Regions from separate parts of the Homo sapiens genome. Here region 2 is linked to region 1. The links are contacts of gene promoters, found by promoter capture Hi-C in blood cells and fetal thymus (Javierre and others, 2016). All regions are on one chromosome and are shown on one strand. The core of a region is centred on a gene start or on the middle of the fragment in contact, and the rest is flanking DNA. Distances in the headings are between cores, read along the strand shown. Region 1 holds the start of AMDHD1 (amidohydrolase domain containing 1). Region 2 overlaps LINC02453 (long intergenic non-protein coding RNA 2453).

Region 1 (7,337 bases), core at 1,441-3,940:
TCCTTGGATGGTGTGGGGAGATCACAGTTAGCAATTTTTTGTTTACCTAAAAGCCAGGAGCCACTGGGTCCTTGGCCTGCTTAGATGCACGCTGCCGCTTCTGACTAGGTCAGAGCACAGCACAATGATGAGGAAATTACTTTCACCTTGACCTTTAAGGCACTGCTGGCGTCAGGCTATTTAGTATGGACGCTTCTGTTGACATTTCTGACTGCCCCTTTTGCGAAGTGAAAAAAAACAAACAAACAAACAAAAAAAAAAACTGGAGGTCAAGAGGAAGGAAGGATGGGTTAAGGAGTCAGCATATACAAGTCAGATAATGTGAAAAGTATTTTATAAGAGCTGCTATCGGGATGTTGGTTATTACCAAGGAAAAATGTGTCATCCTTATCCATCTATAACTACTGAACAGTAACTAAGGAAAGAAATTCACTCATCCTTTCTGCTTTTGCAAACCTCCTGTTTGCAGGAGCTTATCAGGTAATGTTGTCTGTCTGGACTGTGAATCAGATGCACAGTTCACCCACAAACATAAATACCTATGAAAAAGAAATATAATTTCTTTTAGACTCACCCAGAACTTGCAAGCTTTAAGTACATGGTCTGTGAAGTCAGGAGAGGAACTATACTATTGGCTGAAATCTAATCTTTAACTTAATTGGCCAGGAAGACAAATAGCAGGATTAAAACACACGAATAATAGTAATAATACCTATTACTTGTTTAGAGCTGGGCACTGGGCTAAGTGATTTATGTTTTATTTTATTTAAAACTCAGACAAGCCCATAAAGTAGAAACAGCTCTCCCTATGATGAGGATGAGAAAACGAGGCTTCGAGAAATTACTGTAAAGAAATTCCCCAAGGTCAAACAGCTTATAGGAAACAGAACTCAGACTAAGACAAGTTTATTGAACCCTATTTTTCTATAATTTTAACCCATCCTTTATACATACAATTGCATAGTTCTGCAAATATGCCTAAAATTGCAAAATGTAACTGATTAAAGTCTTCAGCAGAAATTTTATAATAGAAAATTTTAATATTTCTCTGTGAATTAGTGACTTTATGTGTTTCTATTCCCCACTATTTCTACTTCTCTTTTTAAAGACATAGAAATATATGTATGTATAAACTTTTTAAAAGCTATGCACACACACACACAAACAACCTGTTTGTGATTGTGTATATGAGCTGTGAATAATCTTCTGATGCCCCCTCCCCCCCACCCTTAGGGTCTCTTTCACTCACATTGTCTATATATTTTCCAATTTTTATCTTTCTCTTTCCTAACTGATCTCTCTTTTATAGGCCATAATATGAAGCTAAATTATATTCTTATTTATCGTGGTCATCTAAAGGAGTGTTTGCTTTCTGTTCCAGGTTTTTTTAATGAGACTAAATTAACTTTTATATTTTGTGGGTTTGCAGGCTTAGTCTGCTTTTATAGTATATTATTTGTGTCCACATCTATCACTTTTATTGTAAAGTCTTTACTGGGCAGGGAAAGCGCCTTTCCTATCTTTGTATGTTCCACAAGACTTAACACAGAGCTTGTGATAAACATGAATAAACGAAATCAAGTAATTAAGGACTCAAAAGCCTGGGCCTGGCAGTGTTTCCATAGCAATTGGTAGCAGGAAGCGACGAGGCTGAGAATCACAGACCATCTTCCATAAACTTGATTCTGTCTCCAATTTTGGTCGCAAGTTGCTTGTAGGCCCACCAGACACAGCTGAGGGGTGGGAGGGGGCATGCGGAGGGGCGGACACTGAGCTGAAACCTATTTTACCTCAGCGAGTTTGGATCCAGGAGCCTTTCCAACCTATCGTTCGGGAAGGCGTTGTGGGAAAAGTGGGCGGAGGTGCCAATCGATCCTCCAGTCTCGGCTCTATCCTCCCCCAGCCCGGTTCCCGGTCATCTCAGGGACCGTCTGGTAGCTGATCCCGGAACGCAGCTGGCCAACGGATAAGTGCGGGGCACCCGCCACCCGCGCGGACCCAGGAGCACCTCCCCTACCGCATCCCCCTCCTCCCCACCCCCAGGTTCCCTCGGCTCGCGGCCCTCCGCGTCCCGGGCTCCCGCCCCAGAACCTGTGGGCAGATGTTTCCTCCACGCAGTACCCTCCCGGGGCTCTGCCTCCAGGCTCGCGTCCCAGCACCCTAGGCAGAGGTTTCCCCCACTCTGTCCTCTCCCGGGGCTCTACCTCCAAGCTCCCGTCCCTGCCCCTGGGCACAGCTTTCCCCTACTCTGCCCTCTCCAGGAGCGCTATCTCCAGGCTCCCACCCCAACCCCCCGGGCAGAGGTTTCCCCCATGGCCCCCCTTCCGGGGCTCTACCCCAGGTTCCGGTCCCTCACTCCCGAACACTCCGGGTGCCCTCACCCAGCCAACCCTTGACGCGCTTCCACATACCACGTGATCCACACAGCTCACTTTGATCTCTCGGGGTGACCAAGCTTAAGTTTCCTTATCTGAAAAGTAGGGACACTAGTCTCCATCTCGTTTACTCGGGATGGGACAAGACGACCAAAAAAGAGAGGATTCCTCATCAGGTTTATTACTCGTTGCCATTCTTGCAATGATTACCGCCCCCGTTGCTGTGGTTGGGGGAGGCGAGCAAAGGGCAGCGGCTGCGAGCGCCCGCCCCCGCCCCACCCTCCCAGCCCCGGACAGCGCAGGCTGCGGCTTTTCGTCCTCCACTGAGTCCTGCCGGTGGCCCGAGCCCGGTGGCCTCCCGGCGACCCTCGGCGCGAGGCGACATGGCAAGCGGCCACAGCCTCCTGCTGGAGAACGCGCAGCAAGTGGTGCTGGTGTGCGCCCGCGGCGAGCGCTTCCTGGCGCGGGATGCGCTGCGCAGCCTGGCGGTGCTGGAAGGCGCCAGCCTGGTGGTGGGCAAGTAAGTGGCCGGGCGCGCAGGGTGGGGACCGCCACGGGCGGAGCTGGCCGCTCTTCCTCTCACTGTGCACTCTGGAGGGAAACAACGCCGTGAAAGCGTCCCTGCACAGAGATACACGGGCAAGCCAGCCTTTGGGGTACCTGTTGCTAACACGCTCTGCTGCTTGGGGTTGTCATTCCGTCCAAAGAGCTCAGAGAGGAACACCCCATTGGAACGCATCAGGGTCCTGCCTCTGCTGGTAAAATATCACTGTCCAACCATCAGAAGGGGTTGAGGTCCTCCCCAGTGCTTCTTAAAGGGAGGCCAGAAGACCACCTTTGTCAGGGTGGCCTGTGGTTATTTTATTCTTACGGCAGATTTCTGATTCCACCTGCGTCCCCCACTCCCTATCCCTAGAATTTTAGAATCAGCATCACTGGGGCTGGAGTTCTGAGACCTGAATTTTTCAAAAGTACCTTTCACATCCTCGTGATCTCGTACACTAAAGCTTTAGAACCACGGAGAACATTTAGACGATAATGGCCCTGAGTGATAATAAATCAAGATTTGACCATCAGAAAACAAGATATTTCTCTTACTCATCTGAGCTTCCTGCCAGATATGAATAAAAGAACAAAGTTTGAGGGCGACCTGGGGTAGCAAGGGAAGTTGGATGAGAATTTGAATCCAAAGCGTGCCATGGGACCACAATTGCACACGATCAATGAGTCTCACAAACTGACCACGGCTTATCTGAGGCAGTTTAGGGTTGTGCAAGAGCCCAGCTTTTAAGGGACTGTGGGTTGGTTTAATTTTATTTATTTATTTATTTATTTATTTATTTATTTATTTATTTATTTTTGAGACGCATGAGCCACTGCGCCCAGCCTATTTTTTGTTTTTTTGAGACAGGGTCTAGCTCTGTTGCCCAGGTTGGAGTGCAGTGGCATGATCTTGGCTCCACCTCCCAGGCTCAACTGCGATCTCCACCTCCCAGGCTCAAGCCATCCTCCCACCTCAGCTTGACAAGCAGCTGGGACTACAGGTGCACGCCACCACGCCAGGCTAATTTTTGTATTTTTTGTAGAGACAATGTCTCACTGTGTTGCCCAGGCTGGTCTTGAACTCCTGGGCTCAAGCCATCCACCTGGTTTGGCCTCCCAGTGCTGAGATTACAGGCGTGAACCACCACGCCCAGCTTGACTGGTTTATTTTTAATTAAGGGATGAAAACATTCCCAATTTACTATGAAAATATTATTTAAAATTTTGCTTAGAAAGTTGAAAAATATGTACCTGGGTTGGGACTGGAGTATCTTATAAAAATTATATCAATGCGACCAGGCACAGTGACTCACGCCTGCAATCCCAGCACTTTGGGAAGCTGAGGCAGGTGGATCACCTGAGGTTGGGAGCTCGAGATCAGCCTGGCCAACATGATGAAACCCCATCTCTACTAAAAATACAAACATTAGCCGGGCATGGCGGCGCACGTCTGTAATCCCAGCTACTCGGGAGGCTGAGGCAGGAGAATCGCTTGAACCCGGGAGGCGGAGGTTGCAGTGAGCTGAGATCTCGCCACTGCACTCCAGCCTGGGTGACAGAGCGAGACTCTGTCTCAAAAATAAATAAATAAATACATAAATAAAATGATACTAATGCACCAACATGAAGTCCTGGGTTCCAAGACATGTTCTATGTTCACATCAAAACCACAAAAAGTAGGGAAAGGAAAAGGAGGGAGCTGACTTGTGGTCTGGAAGATGGGGCTTTTTCATTTGAGTCTGCTACATTGTTCTCACAGTTTGTTGGATTTATTACAATGAAATAAATTTACAAGAATATTGAGAACTTTGCCATTCAAATATGATTAGCTCGGTACAGGATGGTGTTGTTTTTATTTTCACTTACTATCATCACTGTCTTATATATTAGGTTGGTGCAAAAATCAAGTATAGAATTGGAATAATTATCTGGTTATTTGAGATGCTTTGAAATATATCTCCCACCTCATTATCTGAATGTTTTAAGGTAAAAGTGTTTTCAGGGTGAATTATTTAGGTGATTGTCTTAAATTTTCACATCACTTCCCTTATGCAGAACCTGTGTGTTCAAGGACAACTTAATCCTGCTCTTCTTTTGGTAGACAAGAAGAACACAGGCTGTGAGTGTGAGTGTGTATAGGGAGAGGGGTACTGATTAAAAGCACAGAGAAGTGGAAGAAAGTTCCATTTCAAAGCCCAGAATTGGATGGATTTTAACAGTGTGTGTTTTTTTTTTTCCCAACAAGTATATACATACCATGGTGTGTCCTGATTAGAATGAATCTCAGTAAGATCAACTAATAGTTAATCCCCTATATGCTATAGATATATAAAATGAGTCCTGGAAAAGAATATGGTTTGAGGGACACCAGAAACTCCCCCTTCCTAAAAATAAATATCTCAGTGATTGTCTGCCATAGGGTGTAAATTCCACCATTGTGTTCATTCATTTAGGTCTCTAAAGGTATCTCATTCTTAAATTAAGTTCTCTCTCTCTTTCTCTCTGTGTGTGTGTGTGTGTGTGTGTGTGTGTGTAGATTGCAGTTAATCTTGAAGAGGCTCCCAGGTGTGGAAAAGAAGCACAAACTGTCATCCAGTTGACAATTGTCCCATCCAAAGGCTAAAACCTAGATGAAAATGTCTAAATGAACAAAACAAACAGGAATTAAAATATAGATTCATACACAAGGACCATTTGTTTTAGCACTTCAGAGGAGGGGCAAAAATGGAAAATGTTGAAGGAAAAATTGGTGGGTGTTATATTTTCCTTCCTAGAAGCCAATTAAACTGTCAGGTGGACAATGAACCTAAAATAGGACATTTTCATTCATTCACAAATATGTGCTGAGTAGTTAGATTGTGCTCAGCGTAGAGGATGCAAAAATGACTAAGACTGGTTCAGACCTCAAAGAGCTCAAAGTCTACTGGGAAACAAGACACATGAAAAGATAATTATAATACAATATGGTAAGCACAAAGGTAGAGAGATGTGTGCATGCAGGCTTATTATAAGAGACTGCTCCCCCTCCCCCTCCCCCTCCCCCTCCCCCTCCCCCTCCCCCTCCCCCTCCCCCTCCCCCTCCCTCTCCCTCTCCCCACGGTCTCCCTCTCATGCGGAGCCGAAGCTGGACTGTACTGCTGCCATCTCGGCTCACTGCAACCTCCCTGCCTGATTCTCCTGCCTCAGTCTGCCGAATGCCTGTGATTGCAGGCACGCGCCGCCACGCCTGACTGGTTTTGGTGGAGACGGGGTTTCGCTGTGTTGGCCGGGCCGGTCTCCAGCCCCTAACCGCGAGTGATCCGCCAACCTCGGCCTCCCGAGGTGCCGGGATTGCAGACGGAGTCTCGTTCACTCAGTGCTCAATGGTGCCCAGGCTGGAGTGCAGTGGCGTGATCTCGGCTCACTACAACCTACACCTCCCAGCCGCCTGCCTTGGCCTCCCAAAGTGCCGAGATTGCAGCCTCTGCCCGGCCGCCACCCCGTCTGGGAAGTGAGGAGTGTCTCTGCCTGGCCGCCCATCGTCTGGGATGTGAGGAGCCCCTCTGCCTGGCTGCCCAGTCTGGAAAGTGAGGAGCGTCTCTGCCCGGCCGCCATCCCATCTAGGAAGTGAGGAGCGCCTCTTCCCAGCCGCCATCACATCTAGGAAGTGAAGAGCCTCTCTGCCCGGCCGCCCATCGTCTGAGATGTGGGGAGCGCCTCTGCCCCGCCGCCCCATCTGGGATGTGAGGAGCGCCTCTGCCCGGCCGAGACCCCGTCTGGGAGGTGAGGAGCGTCTCTGCCCGGCCGCCCCGTCTGAGAAGTGAGGAGACCCTCTGCCTGGCAACCACCCCGTCTGAGAAGTGAGGAGCCCCTCCGCCCGGCAGCTGCCCCGTCTGAGAAGTGAGGAGCCTCTCCGCCCGGCAGCCACCCCATCTGGGAAGTGAGGAGCGTCTCCGACCGGCAGCCACCCCGTCCGGGAGGGAGGTGGGGGGGGTCAGCCCCCTGCCCGGCCAGCCGCCCCATCCGGGAGGGAGGTGGGGGGTCAGCCCCCCCGCCCGGACAGCCGTGCCGTCCAGGAGGGAGGTGGGGGGGTCAGCCCCCCGCCCGGCCAGCCGCCCCGTCCGGGAGGTGAGGGGCGCCTCTGCCCGGCCAGCCACCCCGTCCGGGAGGGAGATGGGGGGGTCAGCCCCCCCACCCGGCCAGCCGCCCCGTCCGGGAGGGAGGTGGGGGGGTCAGCCCCCCGCCTGGCCAGCCGCCCCGTCCGGGAGGGAGGTGGGGGGGTCAGCGCCCCGCCCGGCCAGCCGCCCCGTCTGGGAGGTGAGGGGCGCCTCTGCCCGGCCGCCCCTACTGGGAAGTGAGGAGCCCCTCTGCCCGGCCAGCCGCCCCATCCGGGAGGGAGGTGGGGGGGTCAGCCCCCCGCCCGGCCAGCCGCCCTGTCCG
Region 2 (7,337 bases), core at 2,427-4,926, 2.5 Mb after region 1:
CCATACCTTATACCTCCTGGTATCTGGTACTTTTTGAACTTTGTTCTGTGTGCATGAATTGCCTATTCAAATAAAACTGTAATGCCTGAGGTTTTTTTGTTTGTTTGTTTGTTGTTGTTTTTTTTTGAGATGGAGTTTCACTCTTGTTGCCCAGGCTAGAGTGCAATGGTGTGATCTCGGCTCACTGCAACCTCTACCTCCCAGGTTCAAGCAATTCTCCTGCCTCAGCCTCCCGAGCTGGGATTACAGGCGCATGCCACCATGCCAGGCTAATTTTGTATTTTTAGTAGAGATGGGGTTTCACCATGTTGGCCAGGCTGCTCTCGAACTCCTGACCTCAGGTGATCTACCCGCCTCAGCCTCCCAAAGTGCTGGGATTGCAGGCATGGGCCACCACGCCTGAGATCTTATCAATCAAGTATTTAAACCAAAAATATTTTACATCTACATTTTTTTAGTGGAAATACAATTTTAAAAAGCACAGTTTAGCCAGGTGCAGTGGCTCACACCTGCAATCCCAGCACTTTGGAAGGCTGAGGCAGGCAGATCACCTGAGGTCTGGAGTTCAAAACCAGTCTGGCCAACATGGCGAAATCCTGTCTCTACTAAAAATACAAAAAAAAAGAAAAAAAAAATCAGCCAGGCATGGTGGCGGACGCCTGTAATCCCAGCTACTCGGGAGGCTGAAGCAGGGAGAAATGCTTGAACCCGGGAGGTGGAGGTTGCAGTGAGCCGAGATCGTGGCACTATACTCCAGCCTGGGTGACAGAGTGAGACTCGGGCTCAAAAAAAAAAAAAAAAGGCACAGTTTGAGGGTGGGGGCTCGCACATGTAATCCCAGAACTTTAGAAGGCTGAGGAGGGAGGATCTCCTAAGCCCAAGAGACCAGGCTGGGCAACAAAGTGAGATCTCATCTCTATAAAAACCAAACAAAACAGTCTGGTGAAAAATGCGATAGAATGAAGTATATTATAGACAAAAGGGACCTTCAGTATCAACTCTCACATATTGATTGTCGATGAAGAAAAGAGTCAAACTCTGTAAAATATTTGAAGAGACTTATTCTGAGCCAAATATGAGTGACCATGGCCAGTGACACAGCCCCAGGAAATCCTGAGAACGTGTGCTCAAAGTGGTCGGACTACAGCTTTTTATTACACATTTTAGAGAGACAGAAGACATCAAAAAATACATGTAAGATGTACATTGGTTCAGTGAGGGTGGATGGGGCGCTTCTACATCATGAGTGAATTCAAAGATTTTCTGATTGGGAGTTAGTTGAAAGAGTTTATCTAAAGACCTGAAATTTATAGAAGGGAGTGCCTGAATTAAGATAAGGGGTTGCGAAAACCAAGGTTCTTGTTATGCAGATAAAGCCTCCAGGTAGCAGGCTTCAGAAAGAACACATTGTAATTATTTCTGGGTCTCACTCCATCACCCAGGCTGGAGTGCAGTGGTGCAATCTCAGCTAACTGCAGCCTCAACCTCCCAGGCTCAAGCCATCCTCGCACCTCTCAGCCTCTGGAGTAGCTGGGATTACAGATGCGCGCCACTACGTCCTGGTAATTTTTGTATTTTTAGTAGAGACAGGGTTTCACCGTGTTGCCCAGACTTATCTCGAACTCCTGGGCTCAAGCAACCCACCTGCCTCGGCTTCCCAAAGTGCTGGGATTACAGGAGTGGGCCACAGCACCAGGTCAGATTGTAAAACTTTTAATTTTTATTTATTTTTTTTATTTTATTTTATTTTATTTTATTTTTTGAGACGAAGTTTCGCTCTTGTTGCCCAGGCTGGAGTGCAATGGTGTGATCTCGGCTCACTGCAACCTCCACCTCCCAGGTTCAAGTAATTCTCCTGCCTCAGCCTCCCAAGTAGCTAGGATTACAGGCGCCCACACCCCCACCCCATGCCTGGCTAATTTTTGTATTAGCCAGAGATGGGGTTTCACCATGTTGGCCTGGCTGGTCTCGAACTCCTGACCTTCAGGTGATTCACCTGCCTTGGCCTCCCAAAGTGCTGGGATTATAGGCGTGAGTCACCATGCCCAGCCAAAAATTTTATTTTTTACCTTTTTAAGGTGCAAGACTCTCAGTAAATTCTCTCCTGGTTAAGGAAAAATATCTGGAAAGGGAAGGGGATTCTCTACTGAAAGTAGATTTTCCCCACAAGAGACACCTTTGCAGGGCCATTTCAAAATGTGTCAAAAATATATATATATTTTTTGGGGTAAACTACTTCAATTTACTTCAGGGCCTGCTGTCTGTCATGTTGGTATCTTACTGCTACAAAAAGCCTTCTTTGTCAGACTTATGTTAATGCTGGTCAGATGTGCCTGAATCCCAAAGGGACTCTGTCCCAAAGGGAGGAGAGTATAATGAGGCTTGTCTGACCACCTGTTCCCATCATGACATGAACTAGCGTTTCAGGTAACTTTGGAATGCCCCTGGACAAGGAGGCATCCATTCAACTGATTGGGGAGCTTAGAATTTTATTTTTGGTCTACATGGTAAAGCTTAAAGTTGCGGAAATCATTATCCTCAGTCAAGCTAAAGCCTAGGTATCCAGACCTCTCTTTCACCTAATTTATTTGCAATTAATCCAAAGTTCTAGGCCAGGCACAGTGACTCACACCTGTAAACCCAGTCCTTTGGGAGGCGGAAGCATGGAGGATCACCCGAGGCCAGGAATTCAAGGCTGCAGTGAGCTAAGATTGCACCACTGCTCTCCCGCCTGGGTGACAGAGCAAGACCCTGTCTCTAAAAGAAATTTTTAAAACAAATAACAAAGTACTGGTTTATGCTGTATTTATAAAACAACATATGTAGTAAGATTTTCTTAGTTTTAGAACCCAGAAAGCTGTGCCAAATGCTTTGAGAGTTGACTTATTTCCTATTAGGTTTTTTAAATACTTGCAGTCCAGATACTGCTTTTAATTTTTTAAAAAACAGTATCCATACTTACAGGCTCTGATTAAGTTTCAAAGACTAAGCCTGCCATGCTTGTCGGTGTGTGATTCCTTCCTCTAAGATTCCAGACATTCCCGTCTCCAGGCATCACTGTGTCGGGGGAGCGCTGTGTGAAAATGGCTGTGATCTTTGTGCGGTTTGTCCGGTTATACCTCACTGGGACACCAGAGGGCGCAAGGAGGGCCAGCACTTGTTTTTCTTTAAATCTCGAATCAAAGTCCATGCAGAGAACAACAAAAGACCCGGAACACAGGGGCCTTGAGACAAAGGGACTCAGGGGAAAAGGCTGCACGCCCTGTTTTACTGAAGTGGAATTTGCTTCTTCACCCTCCTCACCTCCTCACCTCCTCCCCACCTTAAGGAACTAGAAATAAACAACTTAAGCTGCAAAATAATGAAATCTGGCTAACAAGGAAAACCAAACTAGAATACATTACTCAACATGTCATAGGCTAAGAGGACTATCACAAATGTACATTTGAGCTATTTGCTTTGCCTAATATTAATAACTTTAAAGAAAATTTTATTGTTTGCTTTTCTGAGTTCAATATATGCACATAGTAGAAAATTTAGAAAAGGTGGAATAGCAAAAAGAACAGCGATCATCAACACACTCTTAACCCAGATATAACTACTTTTAATATCTTCAGCTACTTCTTTCCAGATGTTTTCTTCTTTCTTTCTTCCTTTTTTTTTTTTTTTTTTTTGAGACGGAGTCTCACTCTGTCCCCATGCTGGAGTATAATGGCGCGATCTAGGCTCACTGCAACCTCCGCCTCCCAGATTCAAGTGATTCTCCTGCCTCAGCCTCCCGAGTAGCTAGGATTATAGGCACCCACCACCACGCCCAGCTAATTTTTGTATTTTTAGTAGAGACGGGGTTTCACTCTGTTGGCCAGCCTGGTCTCGAACTCCTGACCTCAAGTGGTCCTCCCGCCTCAGCCTCCCAAAGTGCTGGGATTACAGGCATGAGCCACCGCACCCAGCCACCAGACGTTTCCAGTACTTACAAATGCATAGAAAAAAAATGGGATTCTGCGTGCTATTTTGTGCTGGTTCTCTTCTTATTTTCTAGATCACTAACTTCATTTTATTGATAAATTCTGATAATAAAACTTTGCTAATCATATGAGTTAATCACAGGTAGGAGAATAAGAAATTTCAAAAGCTACAGGCAGCTTTTTTCCCAAAATAGCAGCAACTTGAATGCCAGACCTGAGTCATGCATTTGAAGCAGAAGTTTTTCTGTTGCTTTGTGTTTAGAAAACACGGAAAGACTAAAGAAAAGGCCTGTCGCAGTGGCTCACACCTGTAATCCCAGCACTTTGGAAGTCCAAGGCGGATCACAAGGTCAGGAATTTGAGACCAGCCTGGTCAACATGGTGAAACCCTATCCCTATTAAAAATACAAAAATTAGCCAGGCATGGTGGCCCGCACCTGTAGTCCCAGCTAATCGGGCAGCTGAGGCATGAAAATTGCTTGAACTTGGGAGGCGCAGGTTGCAGTGAGCCAAGGTCACACCACTGCACTCCAGCCTGGGTGACAGAGTGAGACGGGTCTCAAAAAAAAAAAAAAAATCCAAAGAAAAGAAGTAGAAACTGTTCCATCCCACCCCAAACAGGCTGAATAATTTGTCCTTCTGGGTAGCCTGAGGACTGAATGCCAAAGGGCCAGGGGGTGTGGGTCACCAGGACCCTTTGTTCCTCACACTGGGGCTAGTGTTTGCCTCAAAGCTAGACAGATCAGTAAAGCTATTAACCGGGATAGGTCAGCAGGTGGTCAGTAGGGCAGGAAAAAAGTCAGGAAAACGGAGGTCACTGATCTCCTGTTGGGTTGGGGCCAATGTTGGCAGGCAGGTTCCTTAAAGGACAGGAAGCTTAGGCCAGCCCAGGAACAGATAACTCTAAGGAAAGTGATGGCAAGATCTGAGGCCCTGAAAACCTCTGAGGGACACCTAATCACTAAGCCCACAGATTCCTTAATTTACAGCAACAGATAAAGGTGATGTTCTCGGCCACAGGAATTTAGTTAAATCACTGGAGCTGTCTGGCCTCAGTTTCCTTATCTGTATAACGAAAGGATCAAGAAGATAGGTAAGGTTCCTGTCAGTTCCTCAAAGATTGTGATGTTTAATTCTCCCCAGTCATGCATTATAATGAAAGGTGAAGACATTTCCTGCCCCCTGCCACTCCAGTCCCCTAAGCAGCAGCCCCTCCACCATATACTCTTTCCCGCATTGCCACTTTTCCCAAATTGCCACATGCTCTGAGCCTTTGTATTAATGTTTCTCTGTTCCCTAAGTGCTGGAAAACATTTCCCCCATTCTTTTTCTAAGTTCATCATCATTCTTTGGTGGCCCAGCTAAAAATAGGTCTTTCTTTGACCACTCCAGCCCTTCCCTCTCTGTAATCCCGTAGTATTCTGCACATACCTCCATCACTTTCTACCTCTGTAGCCTTCATCTTCCAGTGCCTCAGTTTCCTCACTGTAAAAAGGAGAAAATTATTATAGCAAACTCATAGGATTTAAATAAGGATTAAATGGTATTAAATAAAATGTATAGTAAGTCATTGGTTTGAACTGAGTTCCTACACTAGGCCCAACAGACAAACCAAAATAGAGTCACTCATGCTGGAGTTCCACACCACTAAGCTGAAAATAAGTTGTTTATCTGACCTTCCAAGAAATCAGGAGGGGGCGGAGCATGGTGGCTCACACCTGTAATCTCAGCACTTTGGGACGCCAAGGCAGGTGCTGAGCTTGAGATCAGGAGTTCAAGACCAACCTGGGCAACATGGAGAGCCCCCACCCCCCAACACCACCACCATCCCTCTACAAAAAATACAAAATATTAGTGGCATAGTGACGCGTGCCTCTGATCCCAGCTACTCCAGAGGCTGAGGTGAGAAGACCGGTTCAGGCAGGGATTGCAATGAGCTGTGATCACCCCAGCCTGGGTGACAGGGCAAGACCCTGTCTCAAAAAAAGGAGAGAAAAAAAAGAGAGAAAGAAATCAGCAGCGAGATATAATAGTCAAATCCCCAAGCAGGTCAGTTTTCGCTGGAATGATAAGAAGGTCCACTCTGCTTTAACCTTTAAACGGAAAGTAACTTTAAAGCACCAATCCACTTTGTGTTTTCTGTTTCTGCTTTGCTCAACCCTTTTTTGTCTATAAAGCCAACCTTGGCCAGGCAAGGTGGCTTATGCCTGTAATCCCTGCATTTTGGGAGGCCAAAGCAGGTGGATCACCTGAGGTCAGGAGTTTGAGACCAGCCTGGCCAACATGGTGAAACCCCGTCTCTACTAAAACTACAAAAAATTAGTTGGGCATGGTGGTGGGCACCTGTAATCCCAGCTACTCAAGAGGCTCAGGCAGGAGAATCTCTTGAACCTGGGAGGCAGAAGTTGCAGTGGGCTGAGGTTGTGCCACTGCACTCCAGCCTGGGCACCAAGAGCGGAACTCTGTCTCAAAAATAAAATAAAAGCCAAACTCTTCTGTTCAGCTCATTGAAATACTCATTCTATTTTATGGAATGAGATGTTGCCTGATTTTAGAATCACAAATGGAAGCCAATTAAGATCTTTAAATCTGTTATAACTTTGTCCTTGGACAATGGTTAATATTATATAAGGCACTTGAAGCCTAAGGCATAGCAGGCTCTCCATCAGCATGAGCTATGCCTCCACCATAGCACTTACCAAATTGTATTGTAACTATCAGTTAAAAGTCCACCTCCCTCAAGAAATTTGAGTTCCTTGAGGGCAAGAAGTGAGTCTTACTAATTTTTTGTGCCCAATGCCTATCTCCATGCTTGGCACAAAAGATAAATCAATAAAGATTTATTTTTTTAAATAAGGAGGGAAAGAAAAGACTAAGTGTTAGTCGAGCTGAAGGGAGACAGACTTTTGCCTCTCAGTTTTTTGTTTTTTGCTTTTTTTTTGAGACAGAGCCTCGCTCTGTCGCCCAGGCTGGAGTGCAGTGGCGTGATCTCGGCTTACTGTAACCTACGCCTCCAGGGTCCCAGTTCAAGCAATTCTCCAGTAGCTGGGATTACAAGTACATGCCACCATGCCCAGATAATTTTTGTATTTTTAGTAGAGACAGGGTTTCACCATATTGGCCAACCTGGTCTTGAATTCCTGACCTCGAGGTCCACCCACCTCCTCTCAGTTTTAACTTTAAATTATTATTTAAATAAATTAGAGGCTGGGCCCAGTGGCTCATGCCTATAATCCCAGCACTTTGGGAGGCCAAGGCAGGCAGATGATTTGAGGTCAGGAGTTTGAGACCAGCCTGACCAACATGGTGAAACCCCGTCTCTACTAAAAATACAAAAAACTTAGCCGGTCGTGGTGGTGCACACCTGTA

Evidence for each region. The method cuts DNA at HindIII sites, captures the fragments that hold promoters and counts their contacts. A CHiCAGO score of 5 or more calls a contact.
Region 2: a fragment that was not itself captured here is called in contact with the fragment with the promoter of AMDHD1 in region 1 in 1 of 17 cell types (non-activated CD4 T cells); the score reaches 5.6 in non-activated CD4 T cells.

Annotation. Positions count from the first base shown.
Region 1 is chr12:95,940,641-95,947,977 of GRCh38, forward strand. AMDHD1 (amidohydrolase domain containing 1) reads left to right here and starts at 2,691. Exons shown (of 9, transcript NM_152435.3): 1 at 2,691-2,895. The coding sequence starts at 2,759. CCDC38 (coiled-coil domain containing 38) reads right to left here and starts at 1,974. Exons shown (of 16, transcript NM_182496.3): 1 at 1,791-1,974. The HindIII fragment of the contact is 927 bases long and covers 2,454-3,380 here.
Region 2 is chr12:98,488,032-98,495,368 of GRCh38, forward strand. LINC02453 (long intergenic non-protein coding RNA 2453) reads right to left here. Exons shown (of 4, transcript NR_038383.1): 3 at 5,400-5,453. Among named protein-coding and RNA genes, the nearest start is that of TRD-GTC1-1, 12 kb to the right of the region's middle. RefSeq lists a silencer at 2,500-2,794. The HindIII fragment of the contact is 2,331 bases long and covers 2,512-4,842 here.